Regions from separate parts of the Homo sapiens genome. Here regions 1, 2 and 4 are each linked to region 3. The links are contacts of gene promoters, found by promoter capture Hi-C in human tissues and cell types (Jung and others, 2019). All regions are on one chromosome and are shown on one strand. Each heading gives the region's core, a stretch centred on a gene start or on the middle of the fragment in contact. The rest is flanking DNA. Distances are from core to core; before and after follow the strand shown. Region 1 has its middle 110 kb from the start of FOXB1. Region 2 has its middle 100 kb from the start of FOXB1. Region 3 holds the start of FOXB1 (forkhead box B1). Region 4 has its middle 65 kb from the start of FOXB1.

Evidence for each region. The method cuts DNA at HindIII sites, captures the fragments that hold promoters and counts their contacts. A contact is called where the count stands out against the background at its distance.
Region 1: a contact is called between a fragment that was not itself captured here and the fragment with the promoter of FOXB1 in region 3, in 4 of the 25 tissues and cell types used here (heart left ventricle, small bowel, spleen and 1 more).
Region 2: a fragment that was not itself captured here is called in contact with the fragment with the promoter of FOXB1 in region 3 in 3 of the 25 tissues and cell types used here (liver, mesendoderm cells and spleen).
Region 4: a contact is called between a fragment that was not itself captured here and the fragment with the promoter of FOXB1 in region 3, in 2 of the 25 tissues and cell types used here (dorsolateral prefrontal cortex and spleen).

The regions. Positions count from the first base shown.
Region 1 is chr15:59,892,412-59,895,111 of GRCh38, reverse strand. No RefSeq gene overlaps it. Among named protein-coding and RNA genes, the nearest start is that of FOXB1, 110 kb to the left of the region's middle. The HindIII fragment of the contact is 6,082 bases long and covers 1-2,700 here.
Region 2 is chr15:60,103,460-60,106,255 of GRCh38, reverse strand. No RefSeq gene overlaps it. Among named protein-coding and RNA genes, the nearest start is that of FOXB1, 100 kb to the right of the region's middle. The HindIII fragment of the contact is 4,415 bases long and covers 1-2,796 here.
Region 3 is chr15:60,002,877-60,005,576 of GRCh38, reverse strand. FOXB1 (forkhead box B1) reads right to left here and starts at 1,266. Exons shown (of 2, transcript NM_012182.3): 1 at 934-1,266; 2 at 1-670. The coding sequence starts at 613. RefSeq lists an enhancer at 1,070-1,585. The HindIII fragment of the contact is 14,342 bases long and covers 1-2,700 here.
Region 4 is chr15:59,937,975-59,940,674 of GRCh38, reverse strand. No RefSeq gene overlaps it. Among named protein-coding and RNA genes, the nearest start is that of FOXB1, 65 kb to the left of the region's middle. The HindIII fragment of the contact is 4,772 bases long and covers 1-2,700 here.

The DNA of each region.
Region 1 (2,700 bases), core at 163-2,662, 110 kb after region 3:
AATTTATGTTTGTGATGCAATGCCTTGCCACAAGAATCTAATATCATGCCATGAATGCACGTCAGAGTTACTGGCTCATAGTATGTCAGGCATTGGAGGAAATAGCTATTTAAGGACATAACTTTTCTTCCCTAAAGGGGAATTGAATTGAAACTAATACATAGTGTCTCAAGACTTCTGAGTACAGAGTAGATTCAAGAAACTTTTTTTGCCTGTTACCTGAGGACACCAGGCTGGATGTGGCAAGAATGAAGAGGTAACTAAGACTCAGTCCATACCCTAAAAGAACTTAATGTCTAGTAGTGGAGTTCATCAAGGAAGCAAAAAAAGTTACAAAGCAGAATATGATATGTTTTAAGAAGGCAACAAGCGTAGCTCATGCCTGTAATCCCAACACTTTGGGAGACCGAGGTGGGTGGATCACCTGGGGTCAGGAGTTTGAGACCAGACTGGCCAACATGGTGAAACCCAGTCATTACTAGAAATACAAAAATTAGCTGGGCATGGTGACTTATGCCTGTCATCCCAACTACTTGGAAGGCTGGGACAGGAGAATCGCTTGAACCCAGGAGGCAGAGGTTGCAGTGAGCCAAGATCACGCCATTGCACTCCAGCCTGGGCGAGAAAGCAAGACTCCATCTCAAAAAAAAGAATAAATAAATAAAATTTAAAAAAAAAAGCAAAGAACAGTGAAGGAATAAAGCATGACAATAGTGGTAGCTATTATTTTAGGTTTGGGTTATGGCAGCACCTCACCTATGGTATCAATTTCTACATCAGTTAAGGTTAAGTTAAACTGCTATAACCAAATGACCAAAAGAGAAAATGGCTGCAAAAATATAGGCCCTATGTTGCCCAGGCTGGTCTCAAACCCCTGTGCTCAAGTGATCCTCTCACCTTGGCCTCCCTAAGTGCTGGGATTACAAGGGTGAGCCACCACACCTGGCCCTACTCATCTTTAAAGCCCAACTCAAGGGTGACCACCTATGAGACAACGTCCCTGGTTCTCTCTTTTCCTTTCCTCGCCTCTATGCCCACAGCACTTTGTTTGAAATGCTGGGAGGACATTCCATAGCATATTTCAGTTAGTTGTTATTCCATACTACATCAACCATAAACTACTTAAAGGCAAGGACAAGGTATTATTCATCTTCATTCTTTGTTCTTGGTCCACACCTGGCATGGAGCAAGCTGCCTGTAAATAGTTGTTGAATTAAATGAGTGTCTGTTCCTGGGTCCAACACACTCCCTGTACTTGAGGGAGCAGAGCCAGTTGGGTGAGGGGAGAGGTGTTTCTGATGGCAGCCTCTTCTATGTAATTATCCCTTCCCAGTGAATAATGGGGCCTCAGCTCTGTGTCTGATTCTTTGATGAAGGTGAAACTATTTAATCAGGTTTGGTTGCTCATCTCATCATCTTCCCACATCACGCCCTTCCTGACGAGCTCATTAGCTGGAAGAAAAATTGATGACCTCGTTAGTTCTGCACAGTGGTTCACTTAGGACAAATTGGAGCTTCAGAATGTTGCTCAACTCTGACCCATGGTGGGACAAGGTCTCATGCTCAGGATTGTTTGGATACACCATGCCCTTGGTGCCTTTATGTGACAGTTTGCTTGGAAACTTTCTGCTTGAAATAGTGTGTTTTCCAATGTAAATATTCACCTTTTAAGTTCCTCCTCATTCTGCTCAGTGAGGAGTACACCACTCCCTCACAGTGCCAAGGCTGGATTTACCTTCTCTACACCCCAACCCCCACCTCAAATTCTTTGTCTCTCTCACCCACTGAAATCTTATCATCCTCCAGGTCCAGTTTACTTTCTGTCCCCCTCTTCATCCAGGAAGTATTCTTTATCCAGGAAGTGTTCAATGACATCCTTGGGGACATAATTTAGTTGAATTTGGAAGCAGCACCTGTTGGGATCGCAACTAAAGGACCAGGGGAGGAGGAATGATTCAGGACCATGGACAGAATCTGAGACAGTCTGGCTGTGGCTGGGACTGCTGGCCCCTGTAAGCTTGGCCAAGAATTAAAATACTGAATCCACAGAAGTGGAAGATGTGGTCAATTCCAGTGCTGTCCAGGGGCCCCATTTCATTAAGCAGAGCATGGTGGCCAGAGGAGGCAGGAAGGTGAGTGGTCCTCGGGGTGAGGGGTAGAAGTTGAAGGATTGTGAGCCTAGCCGATGCTCCATTCCTTCTGTCTCAATTGTTCTTTCTTCCTCTCTAGCTTTACTCTATTTTTCTGACAAACTATTTGGTTTTCAAAATCCAGAAAGGCTGTATTTCTCTAGAAAGGCTTTCCTGCCTTCCTCCCTGATGTTACCAGCCACTCCTATCTCTGTGTTAGCTCTTCATCCTGAACACGTTTAATGCTGTTCTTGGCACACACTGTGTTGTAATTATTGATTGAAAGGCAGGTTTCTTCTGCGTTCCAGAGTGCTCTTGAAAGTACAGATTTTGTTTCTTTCATTTCTGTATCCTGTATGTGCTCTGTGCCAAGCATGAGCCTGCTATCTAATAGATGGTAAATAATTATCTGTTAAATGAAAGAATGAGTGAATGGTGGGCCTCCCGCTCGCAGGTATGGGGTGTGCTCCTGGAAGAAGGAGTGAGCATAGGCCCAATAAAGCCTCAAGACCCCTGCTGATTGGCTGAAAGTCCAAGGCCCAGCTTTGGTAATACTGGCAGAGTGGAGTGT
Region 2 (2,796 bases), core at 201-2,700, 100 kb before region 3:
ATCAATATGTCATAGTAATATCACATAAAATGTACCTAGTGTCATCACCATCATCACCAACAGACATTTGAACACTCAGATGTGCCAGACATAGTAACTGATGAGGTTACAAACTGTGACCAGTGCACTGTCCCTGTGCATATGAAGTCTTCAGTGTTGTGGGGGTGGCAGAGATAAACAGCCAAATGCACCATAGGAATTTGCATGAAGGTATGTCAAAGGTATTGTGCAGCACAGAAGAAGTACTGCTTATCTACTTACGGTTTCCCTCTCATCTTTGTTGGATTGGACCAACTCATGGCATTCTCCACATCTCAGGCTCAATGTCACGCTTTCCCTGACACATTTGGCCATGTGCCCTTGCAGTTACCATTTTGTGGCATTCATCACAGAGGTAATTACTTACTAATGTGTGTTTCAGACTCATAACCTCATGGAGCCAATGACTATTTCTGCCATGTTCCTTGCTGTATCCTCACGCCTAGTGCAGTGCCTGGCACATTGCAGGGGTTTAAGACATATTTGTGTAGTTAAATCAAGAACTATAAGGGGGTTGGCGGGGTTGCATGAGGGAGTAGTTGAGAAAGTGAAAAGACTCTAGGGGTGAGATAATGAGGGGCCTTTTTTGATGAAAAGAGTTTGGACTTCAAATAGCAGAGAATGGTGAACCATTGAAATATTTTATTTTATTTTTATTTTTTTGAGACAGGCTCTGGCTCTGTCATCCAGCTCACCATAGCCTCAACATGCTGGGCTCAAGCAATCCTCCCACATCAGCCTCTGGAGTAGCTGGGGCTACAAGCTCGCACCACCACACCCAGCTAATTTTTAAAAAAGTTTTCGTAGAAATAAGGTCTCACTATGTTGCCCAGGCTGGTCTTGAACTCCTGGGCTCAAGTGATCCTCCCTTGGCCTCCCAAAGTGCTGGGATTACAAGCACAAGCCACTCCGTTAGCCTACTGAGAGATGTTAAACAAGGGATATAATTCGGTTGGAGCTTAGAAAGTTCATTCTGGCAGCAGTGTAGTATATTATGGGGTGTATGTGATGGGGTGGGGGGATGAAAGACATTCAAGAGTTTAGTGAGGAGGCTCTTGCTCAAGACCAGGTGAGAAAACACGAGGACTCAAATAAAAGCAATAGCAGTGGGGATGGAGCAAGCTGTTTGAGAGTCAGAATGAATGTGACTTAGTGAACAAGTAGATGTGAGAAGTAAGGAAGAAGAAGAATTCTAGATTGATTTCCAAGTTTCTACCTTGTATGTGGGATGTTGGAACCCATTGTACTTGAAAGATGAGCTTTGGCATCAGACAGCTAGGATGTGACATCAGGCATCATTCGCCTTAGTTTTTCCATCTGTAATGAAAATTTCAATAGCTCCCTTGGGGGTTGGTGTGGTATGAAATGTTTGTCACTGAGCAGAGACAACACTTCAGTTTGTCCATGTGTTCCCACCTCTGTAATTGAGCCTTGGCTAAAAGAATAAAAATAGATTCAATGGGGAAGACAGAGAACTTGGATTTGCAAACTTTAAGTTTTAGACATCTTTGTGGTACTCACCTTTTGAATACACAATAAAAGATCTTAAAACTAAAACTGAGGCTAACAACATTGTAAACTTCTACAGTTCTTGTAAGAGATTTTTCATATAAGAAGCCATGCATTCTCCCCCAACCCCCCAACCCCCCAACCCCATAGACTTTTGGAACCTATTACAGACCGAACAAGTTGGAACATGTTTGCCTTGTGGACCATTAGAAAGAGCATAGACTTTGGAATCAAATCTGACAGAGGGGGAATGTCTACTTCTGGCTCAGATTTCTCATTAAAGAGTGGAATTGATGGTTGGTGTCACTCAGGATGGTGTGTGATTAAGATACCTCCCAGTGGAAAATCTACGAGTGTGCTTGAATCATATAGTCACTCAGTAAATATACATTTCTTTCCCTCAAAGTTCCAAATCACAACAAAAATATTACTTAAGAAAAATTTTAAAGAGCCACTTAAACTCCAATGGACTGACCTGCAGTCAGTACACCTGCTTTCAGCCAAAGCTCCATTTCCTACAACTATGCTACTTGACAAAAAGTGTTTATAATTATTATACATGTTGGCCAAAGATAATATAAGATATGGAATCAAAGGCCAACTCAGTAACATTTGGGGCAAATTAGAATACTAAAATAAAAATGCGTGTTAGACTTTGAAGTCAACATGAAGAGTTAAGATAAAAAATGTAATTCATTTATTTTTCAGTTATCCAGAAAATAGTTTGTCACGGTTCCTCACAACTCCCAGCACTTTGCATAGTTAAGATTAGAGAGAAAAATCTGTATTGATTTGCTTTGGTACTAGTTTTGTTTGGTGACATCATCTCTAATGTCATCCTTATCACAAGGGTGGACAACTTTGCAGAAGATGTTGCTTTTCTAGCAGGGCAAGAGGAGAATAAGTGTCTTTTAAGAGCCTCCAACCTTTTAATTTATAAAGTTGAGAACTATTACCAATATTTAATCTTTAGCAATCAGTTCCTGTTTTAATCCGCAGTAAAAAAGGGGTTGGCTGTTTGTTCATGAACTTTTTACAAGCTTAAATTCCTATGACAAAAGTCAAATTAAACAATAGATGCTACTCAACGATACAATTTTTTAAAAAGACAAAAATTTAAACATTTTTATAACGAGAACTCTAGTATTTTCACTGACGTCCACTATAAGCAAATATTTTGGAGTATATCACAAATGATTTAGGTTATGGTGAGGATTAGAATTCTTTTCCTTAGTGGAGGAATTCCAG
Region 3 (2,700 bases), core at 17-2,516:
TCAACTGGTTGGGGAGCGGGTAGGCAGCGGGCACCGGCTGCATGGCGGAGAAGGCCAGCCCCCCAGGCATCTTGTATTCCCGCGCGATGATGTTCTCGATGGCGAAGGGGTGCTTGAAGCCCGAGGGCTGCGCCACGCCGCCCAAGTTGTAGGCGGCGGCGGGCATCTGTGGCAGGTGCGTGCCCGAGGCCGCCAGCGCGCTGAGCCGCAGCTTGGCCTGCTGCTGCAGGTACTGCGCCGCGTCGGCTGGCTTGCTGGGCGCCAGGTGGTCGGACTTAAGCACCTTGAAGCGCTTGCGGCGCCGCAGGAAGCTGCCGTTCTCGAACATGTCCCCGCAGCTTGGGTGCAGCGCCCAGAAGCTGCCCTTGCCTGGCTGGTCCGGCCGCCGCGGGATCTTGATGAAGCAGTCGTTGAAGGAGAGGTTGTGGCGCAGACTGTTCTGCCAGCGCTGCGTGTTCTCCCTGTAGTAGGGGAAGCGGTCCATGATGAACTTGTAGATCTCGCTCAGCGGCAGCATCTTCTCGGGAGAGCTCTGGATGGCCATAGCGGTCAGCGAGATGTACGAGTAGGGCGGCTTCTGGTCGCTGTACGTGTTGCGGCCGGGCCGAGGCATCTTCTTCCTCGCCCTCTTCTTGCTCTGGGTCCGCGCGGGCCGGCGGACTGCTCGGATCTGGGAAGGGGGTGGGTAATAGGGAAAGGTAGCATGGATGCACAGAGACACCGGCGGGGTCAGCCAGACCGAGTAACAGACTTCGGGGGTCGGGGGTGGGGCCTGCGGCGCTCGATCAGCCAGCGCCCGGACTCTTTCGCCAGCAACTTTGCGGGCTTAGTGGGCGCGGGAGGGGAAGCCGGCGAACGGCGCGAGGATAGCCGGGAAGTAAGTCGGTACTGGGGCCAGAATAGGGGGCAGGGACGGAACAGAGAGCTGCTCACCTTAAAGTTGCTTCAAGTTGCGCGTCCGCATCCGGGAGGACGCCGCTGCGCGCCGCTTCTCTCTCGGCGCGCACTCGACGCGCACTCCGCGCGCAGCGTCCGGGTCCGGTTGGACTCGGCGCGAACCTGGGCTCTTGAGCTCAGCCCCGCAGCGTCCCGTGCCGCCCGGTCCGCGACGCTCCTGGAGCGTCCTGCGGGCGGCCGAGCTCGGCTGCGGAGTCCCGGCGCGGATGGTGGCAGCGACGTGTTAGGGCTCCGGAGGGCGCTGCTGTGGGCTCCGCGTCTCCGCTGAGCTAGGTGGCTGCCTCCATGTCCTCCCTCGAACCATCTGATAGTTTTAAGCGGTGACAGGAGCAGAAAAGACCCCTGTAGCGGCGCTTCATTAATGTGCCACTTCTTAGCTATCATATGACAATCGCCTTGGGAGGAGGAGGAAGAGGAGGGGGAGCGGGGGCTGCAGAGGGAGGGGACTGAGCGAGAAGGGAGAGCCCGGCCAGCTCTGGTTTCTTTCACACCTATTTACATGGACACCTTGGCCAATAGGAATCACTTCCAGCTCAAGACTGGGCGAGGGGGAAGAGCCTCGGCCACTGGGCAGGCAGCTGGACGCGCCGGCCGGTGTGCGCCGTGTGAAGGTATGAGGAAGCGGCCGCCGCGGAAGAGGGAGCCAGGCGACCACTCACGTTCACAGATGGAGCAGCCGCGCGGATGATGTTTGACATGGAAATTGCTTGGCTGGGGTATTCTGTTTCCTCTGCGTTGTATCCGGTTTGTATCGTTAGGTAACTTTAGGCACGGCTTTCCCCTGAAGCCGACCCTTTTCCTGCGCTTAGCACTACCCGGGGTTGGTTGCATGGGTTATAATAATGAAAACACACCCTTGCCCCCCAGTCCCCGGAGAGTTAGGTCGAAATTTGACTTGACTTTCCTATGCAGCTGCTTCAGCTTTGTATAGTTAGTGTGTAGCTTTGAAAAAGTGATGGGGTTTACAAATACTTTCAAAATGTGATTGGACATCCCCATGTAAGAACCCATTTTGAATGTAACTGTATTGACCAAATTTTTAAAAATTAAAATAGTGTATCTGGGCGAAGAGTCCAGGTATTTGCTTTAAAAGTCCTCCGGGAATTTGGTTGGACACAGGATGGAGGCTCAGGAGCTGTTGGGGCAAATGTTGTGCGGACCTGGGGAGGGCCTGAGTTTGTTTGACACAGTTTATCACCAGGTAAGCCTCAGGGGCTCTCGCTTTTCCCAGGTGGTTTGAAACTTTAGGACTCAGGCACATCCTGGAAGTTTTCATTTTACACCCGGAACTCCCCTTCCCAGCCCTCCCACCCCCCCAACCTCCCACCCCCCATCCCCCAACTGCCGCTTTTTTTGGTATGGAGAACTTATTTAGGATTTAGAGTGTAGCAAAAGCCGCCTGCGATCCCACTAAGACAGCAGTATCTTCTACAACTTGGGGAAAGAACCATAGAGTTTTCCTTCTTGGGGAGCGGGGAATGTGCCTTGGGTCACTCCGCCTGGTGCGAGCAGCAGGCTCCCTTCGGTTCGGATTCGCCTTGGAAGGGTTAAATGAATCATTATTATTATTATCATTATCCTCATCGTCGTCGCTGCCGTCATCATCATCATCATCAAATTGCTATGAAATAAATAGTGAGTCGACCCCGCCTGCATGCACGCACTCTATAAGTACACACCAGGAGTTCCCACGGGTTTCTGCACATTCTCCGACCTTTAAGGTTTTTAAAAGACATTCATTTT
Region 4 (2,700 bases), core at 179-2,678, 65 kb after region 3:
TATTTGAAATTCATCATTGAGTTAGTCCTGTGGGAGTTACTCTCAATTACAAATTGAAGACTAATTGTGCCGCAATGACTGTTGCTCTAAGACGCCTCCACTGTAATCGCTCCCTAAATTAACTCTCGCCTCTTATTTAACACTAAGTTAAGGCTTTAAAATGAGCTGTGATTTGTAGTAGGCAGCACAGCAGTTGCTGAATTGTGGAGTCACACCTATAAATAAATAAATATAAGTATATATACACACATACATATAATTTTATAAATTCCCTTGTCATTTAAATTCTGGATTATTTTTAAAATGTGAAAGTAAAATTTGCTTAACAGAAACAGCATAATTGGCTTTTTTTTTTTTTTCTTGAGACACAGTCTCACTCTGTTGCCCAGGCTAGAGTGCAGTGGCACAATCTTGGCTCACTGCAATCTCCGCCTCCGAGGTTCAAGCGATTCTCCTGCCCTAGCCTCCAGAGTACCTGGGATTACAAGTGTGCACCACCAACGCCCGGGTAATTTTTGTATTTTTAGTGGAGATGGGGTTTTACCATGTTTGCCAGGCTGGTCTCGAACTCCTGACCTCAGATGATCAACCCGCCTCGGCCACCCAAAGTGCTGGGATTATAGGTGTGAGCCACTACACCCAGCTAGTTTTGCTTTTACTGTCATGTACAATTAAATTTTTTCCTTATTGCCAGTCTTTTGTTCTGAAAAATAGTTTCTGAAAAGCTTAAATCACTACACTCCTGCCCCCACACTCTCTTGTTTTATATCGCCTTGATGTATTTTCTTACGCAGTGTGCCTCTTTTTTTTTCAAGGGTAGGATGGGGTGGGAGAGAGAGGTCTGACTCCTGATCAAAGGGGGTTGCATGATTCCCTGTATTTTGCGTTTCCATCCAATCATTGCGACCCTGACAATCAGGTGACAAGCAGCAAGCTGGTAAGAATTCATCAGAAATTAACCCAGAGAAGGGGAGCTATAAAGGTAGTGCCCACAAGAGGAGGTGAGGCCCTGGCCCAAATCAGGAGGCCACAGTGGTGTCAGCGCAGGTGACACCTCAAAGCGTCAGCCAAGGATTCAACCCCTTGTAGACATGGTCTTTAGGACACTTCCATTAGGATTTGACGAGTGACTTCTGCAAGTTTGACGCAAACTTAAGCAAAAATTCAGACTTCAAGTTATGAATATACTTTTTGTTCTCTAGCAAAATATGGCTATGTAATTTTAAGTATAAATTAAAAAGTAACTTAAAAGACATCTGAAAATGGTCTTTTGGCCTTAACCAAATGATGACAATATAAACAGCCATGAGTTTTGGCTTCCTCCAAAAGGACAGGCAGAGGCTAAGCGCATTTGGTCTGCAGTTCCTGCCACCTGTCCTGCCTCAACTCTCTGGTTACAGCACAGGCAATAGCTCGAGAGAGACTGGTCTTAAAGCCAGTTATCAGATGCCAAGGGAAAGCCAAAAGGAAATGAACAAAAGAAGTATAAGAAACATATAAAACTGTCAAACTTCTCAAGTCCAGGCTAGCTGCTTCCTAGCCATGCCCCAAGCCCCACCACTCCACTGGTCCACTGCTTGGCCTCCTTCCCTGCCAGCTCCCTGCCTGTCTTTTCCTCATGGGTGTCATCTTCTCACCTACAGGCAAGTGGAGCTCTTAAACGACTGGCGAAGAAGGTTCTTATGTTCCTATCTCATAGAATGACCTATGGGCATCTCTCTGAGAATTTTCGCTCCGACTGGATGTTCTCCATCCCTCACCCCATATGGAAAACTAATTCAGAGTTAGAAATAGAAAGATGATTTCCTTGAGCTGCCACCACACCCAGACCCAACCCCAGCCCTAAAAGGAATGTGACTTATATGGAGTTACCAAATAATAGATCAAAACTCCTCCAGTCTGTCTGCTGCCCACCTCTCGCAATAGAGGCAAATATCCTTGCCCATTTAGTTCCAAAATTAAACTTTACTTCCATATTATAATCACCACTCATTGTGCACAGATTATTTGGACACTGTAGAAAAGTAGAGGGAAGGGGGAAACTCAATCATAGTTTCACACTTAGAGACAAAACTGGTACACTGACTTCCAGTCATTCCTTTATATAAGGTGTAAATTTTTTCCAACATACTAGAAACTGCTTCCCCCTAATGACCAGAGATGCAATTTTAATTTAACATTATAACATACATATTTCTCTTGTTAATATAAATTTGTAAATGCACTTAACCGTATTATATTTATATAATAATGAACATACTAATACATTAATAATTATAGTATATAAACATATATTTATAAATATATTTATAAATATAAGCTTGTAAATATATTTCATATCTTTGTAAATGTATTTAACAGATGTATGATAATTCACTGGATATAGCATAGTTTACTTAACCTAAATGAGTCAAAATAAGGGAATCTCTTTCCAATTTTTCACTGTTATTATTAAGGCTGTAACTAACATAAATGCATAAACATTTTTAGGTATGTAGGCTAGTTTCTTTACAAAAGGCTCCTAGAAGGGATAGAGATGGGTCAAAGGGTATAAACTTTTTAAGGCTTTTTTTTTTCTTTTTTTTCTTGAGACAGGCTCTCGCTCCGATTGCCCAGGCTGGAGTGCAGTGCTGTGATCTCAGCTTACAGCAGCCTCACCCTCCTGGGCTCAGGTGATCCTCCCACCTCAGCCTCCTGAGT